Regions from separate parts of the Homo sapiens genome. Here region 1 is linked to region 2. Evidence: promoter capture Hi-C in human tissues and cell types (Jung and others, 2019). All regions are on one chromosome and are shown on one strand. Each heading gives the region's core, a stretch centred on a gene start or on the middle of the fragment in contact. The rest is flanking DNA. Distances are from core to core; before and after follow the strand shown. Region 1 overlaps CCDC90B-AS1 (CCDC90B antisense RNA 1). Region 2 holds the start of FAM181B (family with sequence similarity 181 member B).

What was found. The method cuts DNA at HindIII sites, captures the fragments that hold promoters and counts their contacts. A contact is called where the count stands out against the background at its distance.
Region 1: a fragment that was not itself captured here is called in contact with the fragment with the promoter of FAM181B in region 2 in 1 of the 25 tissues and cell types used here (mesenchymal stem cells).

The regions. Positions count from the first base shown.
Region 1 is chr11:83,306,273-83,308,972 of GRCh38, reverse strand. The region is part of intron 1 of CCDC90B-AS1 (CCDC90B antisense RNA 1); the gene reads right to left. It overlaps LOC105369420 (a long non-coding RNA gene), which reads right to left. Exons shown (of 2, transcript XR_950379.2): 1 at 2,275-2,700; 2 at 1,831-2,090. Among named protein-coding and RNA genes, the nearest start is that of CCDC90B, 21 kb to the right of the region's middle. The HindIII fragment of the contact is 4,088 bases long and covers 1-2,700 here.
Region 2 is chr11:82,732,612-82,735,311 of GRCh38, reverse strand. It overlaps FAM181B (family with sequence similarity 181 member B), which reads left to right and starts at 1,448. Exons shown (of 1, transcript NM_175885.4): 1 at 1,448-2,700. The coding sequence starts at 1,583. The HindIII fragment of the contact is 21,418 bases long and covers 1-2,700 here.

The DNA of each region.
Region 1 (2,700 bases), core at 164-2,663, 570 kb before region 2:
CTGGTGAAGATGCTGTGAATATTGTTGAAACAACAATATTAATAAAGCAATAGAAAGCTTTGAGAGAATTGACTTCAGTTTTGAAAAAAGTTCTGCTGTGGTTAAAATAGTACCAGACAGCATCATGTGCTACAAAGAAATCTTTCAGCGAAAGGAAGGTTCAATTGATGTGGCAAACTTCATTTTTGTATTTTATTTTACTATTTTATTTTATTTTATTTTACTTTATTTTATTTTATTTTACTTTATTTTATTTTATTTTATTTTATCTTATTTTATTTTATTTTATTTTATTTTATTTTATTTTATTTTATTTTATTTTATTTTGTTTTATATTTTGAGGCAGGATCTCACTCTGCCATCCAGGCTGGAGTGCAGTGGCACAACCTTGAATTCCTGGGCTCAAGCAACCCTTCCATCCTACCCTCCCTAGTAGATGGTAGTATAGGCATGCACCACCACACTCAGCTAATTTCTTTTTATTTTCTGTAGACACACGGTCTCACTATGTTGCCCAGGCTGGTCTTAAACTCCTGGCCTCAAAAGATTCTCCCACCTCAGCCTCCCAAAGTGCTGGGATTTACAGGTATGAGGCAATATACCCAGCCTGTTGTCTTATTTTAAGAAATTGCCACAACCACTCCAACCTTCAGCAACCACCACGCTGATCAGTCAGCAGCCACCAAAATCGAGACAAGACCCTCCACCAGCAAAAAGATTACAAGTAGCTGATGGTTTGGATATCATTAGCATTTTTTTAGCAAATAAAGTACTTTTAAGGTATGTACTTTTGTAGATATAATGCTTTGCACACTTAATAGAGTTTATAAGGTAAACATAACTTCTATATGAACTGGGAAACCAAAACATTCTTTTTACTCACTTTATTGTGTTAGTCTGGAACTAAACCACATTATTTCTGAGCTATGGCTGTACTTGTCTCTTCCCCTACTCAAAAACTCCTCTAAGGAAAGAAGTTGTCTCCAGAACAAAAAAGTATAAGATGAAGGAGCAAGTTCTGGTGTAGAAGCTGCAGCAATTCATCCAGATGATCTGCGATTATTGATAATGGTAGCCACACAAAACAACAAATTTTCCATGGAGATTAAATAGCCTTCTATTGGAAGAAGATGCCATCCAGGACTTTTGTAGCTAGAGAAGAGAGTACAATGCCTAACTTCAAGGCTTCATAGGACACACACTGTAGGCTAGGTTTGGAGTACTATTCAACCTTCAGACATTCTTGAACACCCCATGCCTACCATAGTATCTGTACCAAGCACACAAAGTATATTGAGCTTCACTGAAAGAGGTTATTGAAGGTTGTCAAAATGTCAGGCAATTCACATATTGCATACTGGTAAGGGCTCTTGAAAGTTAAAGAACACCTACCTAAGAGTATGTAAATTATTAAAACATTTTAGAGGGCAATATAGCAATACATTCCAACATTTTAAATATGCAAACTCTTTGACTCAGCCATTCCATTTCTAGGGATTCTTCCTATAGACATTCTTACGTACATGCACTAAGAAGTATCTAAAAGGATGTGCAGTACAGCTTTGTTTTGTTTATAATAACAAAAAAAGAATACAAAGTATCCATTAATAGGAGCACCAGTTAAATGAATAATGTTATGCCTATACCCTGTAATACTATTGAGTTATTAAGAATGAAATAGAATTCTATGTACAAACTTGGGAAAATGTCCAAGACATAATGATAAGTGAGAAAATTAAGCTGCAACACACTGGAAAGAAAGTGCACCAATCCGTTAACAATATCATCTTCAGGGTAAGGAATTAGAGAATAATTTTATTCTGAACTCTATACATTTTCATACCTTTTTATTTCTAAGGAAGCAATACATTTATAATAAAAAAAAATGCATTTTCTTAAAAAGTAGAAGCCCACCCTCCACTACACCCCCAGCTTCCCTTTTGGATGCAGTGGAAGATAAGCACTGGGCTGTTCATGGGCTGGAAAAGCTAGAATCTTCTTTTCTCCAGGTGCTCCATGAGAGAGGCATAGCTCTGATGGCTGCTCCCTCCCAGCTGCCAATCACGCCCTCTCTTCCTCTGATAATTCTACTGTAGGATTGGGGGAGAGCATAGAACAGGATAGGCAGGAGAGGGGCAGGTAGGTAGGAGAGCTCTGACATCAAAAGCTGCCTCTGCCTGTCTTTCCCCTCAGGTCTGCCTTGTCAAGCCCAAAATTAGAAGGGAAATGAACTGTAGCTAAATCAGCTAACTGAACCAAGAAACAGCCCTCTACCTTCACTTCCAGTGACATCAATCCAGTGATCCTGGACAGGGTCCCCCAGCAGTAGAGAGTTCTGCAGACACACAGGCTGACCTGTCCAGGTACTGCCTGTAGGAGGCAGATAGGGACACAGCTACTTGAAAAGGAAAGGACAGAAACAACTGAATGAATTCCATGAATTGGTAAATTGCCTAATCTAATTTTTCTCTTTGGATAAGTGTCCTTTGTCTCTGCTTCAGATGGTGGAAAGGCACACAAGAGTGAGGCTGCTGCCAGCTTTCTTCTAATGACATGCCGGGACCCACGCCTGTTATTACCAATATTCTAGAATCTGAGGAAAGGGCATTATGCCAGATAAGCCTCTCCCTCCCTCCCACTGTGTAAGCTTTAGAATCTGAACTGGACTGAGCGGGCCTGAAGTATACACTTCTGGTAAAT
Region 2 (2,700 bases), core at 199-2,698:
GTATTACATGCATTTTAACCTACAATATTTTCAACTTACAATGTGTTTATCAGGATGTTGTTGCTCTATCACAAATTGAGAAGCATCTATGATCTCACTTAATGCTCATGAACACCCTATGATCCAGAAGACACGTAAGGGATATAGTCACCTTTTTGTGTTTCAGAGAAGTAAGGGTGAATACTCATCCAGGCTATGGAACAATGTATCATTTAAATATCACAAGTGCCCTGTGGGGAGGGCAACTTTACCTGCATTTAACATGAGTAAGCTAAACAGAGAGAGTACGCTGGTTTGTCTAAAGCCATGCACTCAGCAGAGCAAGGATTTCAACCTAAGTCATGAGGTTATTGAGTGGTGGCTAAGACCAGAACCCAAGCCTCTTCTGAATCTCTTGTGAAAATGACCTTATTGCTCATTTTCTCTATCTATCCCAAAGAGGATTGCCCAGGTGAAATTAGTTTTAAGTGAACTTCATGATGATCCCTGAAATGCAATGAAAATTCCAGGGATAACCTAAATGGTATGACAGGTAGGGGAGAGGTTCCAATCCATCTTTTATTCTAACATGCTGAGAGTTTTATACACACACAGTGTTCTCAAGTAACAGGGGGCTTAGCCAGATCGACTCCTTTCTCCATTGCCTCCTGCTATGTGTTAATAAAAGATGGGCCACTGCTGGCCTCAATTTACTGTTAGCCAATTGTTACTCGTAACAATCAAGTGGCAAACAGTCAAGAAGAAAGAGCACTGGGCTTGAGAATCCTGGGAAAACTCAGGTTAGAATCTTAGGATCAGGTCTAGAGCTTTAAGAAATACTCATTTTCCTTCCCCATCTTAATAGATGAGAAAGGCAAGGGCAAGAGAGGACGCAAGTATTGTCAAGGGCTTAGGAATGGCTTTGGAGTCAGAATGGGCTAGATCTGACTTTGGCCAACTCACTGAACCTCCCTGAGGTGCAGTGTCCACGTTTGTTGAATGGCGATAACATGTAATTCACAGGGCTGTTGTTCAAGGATTAAATGAGATAATAGATGGACAGCGCCTGGCAGAAGCAAGCGCCCAGAAGCTGGTGGGTGTTGTTATACAGCTGGACTGAAACCCACGTCTCTAGACTCCTGCCTTCTTGCCTCAGGAGAGGCACCACCGCAAGTACCTGCAGAAGCCTATCAAGCGCTGCAGCGGCCTCATGGGCCTGAACTGGAGTTTGAGACCAGCCATCTCTTCCTCACCCCTTGCGGTTAGAGGAGTCAAGAGAAACACCACGGGGCAAAGGGAAACGAAGGAGTTAAGGCGTTGAGCTTCAGAAAGCTCAGAAAACTAAAGCGACCCCCCACTCCTCCAAGCCAGGCTAAGTAAGCCCCTCCCCTCTACCACCGGGACGGTCGCCGCGCGCTCCCTCCCTCCGCCCCTTGCTTACAAGACCTAATGAGCTCCCCCGGGAGGCAGCGCAGCGAGCCAGGCCCGGAACTAGTAGGCTGCGCCGCGCGCGCCGCGCCGGGGCGGGAGCTGGGTCTGGGCGGCGGGCAGGAGCTGGCGGGGGCGCACGGGCAGCGCTGCGGACAGCCCGGGAGCCGCGGCGATGGCGGTGCAGGCGGCGCTCCTCAGCACGCACCCTTTCGTGCCCTTCGGCTTCGGGGGCTCCCCGGACGGGCTAGGGGGCGCCTTCGGAGCCCTGGACAAGGGCTGCTGTTTCGAGGACGATGAGACCGGGGCTCCGGCGGGTGCGCTGCTGTCGGGAGCCGAAGGAGGGGACGTGCGCGAGGCCACCCGCGATCTACTCAGCTTCATTGACTCGGCGTCCAGCAACATCAAGCTGGCGCTGGACAAGCCGGGCAAGTCGAAGCGGAAGGTGAACCACCGCAAGTACCTGCAGAAGCAGATCAAGCGCTGCAGCGGCCTCATGGGCGCCGCGCCCCCCGGCCCGCCCTCCCCGAGCGCCGCCGACACGCCAGCCAAACGGCCGCTGGCCGCCCCTAGCGCCCCGACAGTCGCGGCCCCGGCCCACGGCAAGGCTGCCCCCCGGCGGGAGGCGTCGCAGGCCGCCGCGGCCGCCAGCTTGCAAAGCCGAAGTCTGGCCGCGCTCTTCGACTCGCTGCGCCACGTCCCCGGGGGTGCCGAGCCGGCGGGGGGTGAGGTGGCTGCGCCGGCGGCCGGGCTAGGAGGTGCGGGCACTGGGGGCGCGGGAGGGGACGTGGCAGGCCCCGCGGGGGCCACGGCGATCCCAGGGGCCAGGAAGGTCCCGCTGCGGGCACGCAATCTGCCTCCGTCCTTCTTCACGGAGCCGTCCCGGGCAGGCGGCGGCGGGTGTGGCCCGTCGGGGCCGGACGTGAGCTTGGGCGACCTGGAGAAGGGCGCGGAGGCCGTGGAGTTCTTTGAGCTGCTGGGGCCCGACTACGGCGCCGGCACGGAGGCGGCAGTCTTGCTTGCCGCCGAGCCTCTCGACGTGTTCCCCGCCGGAGCCTCCGTACTGCGGGGACCCCCGGAGCTGGAGCCCGGCCTCTTTGAGCCGCCGCCGGCAGTGGTGGGAAACCTACTGTACCCCGAGCCCTGGAGCGTCCCGGGCTGCTCCCCGACCAAAAAGAGCCCCCTGACTGCCCCCCGCGGCGGCTTGACCTTGAACGAGCCCTTGAGCCCCCTGTACCCCGCCGCTGCGGATTCTCCCGGCGGGGAGGACGGGCGGGGCCATTTGGCCTCTTT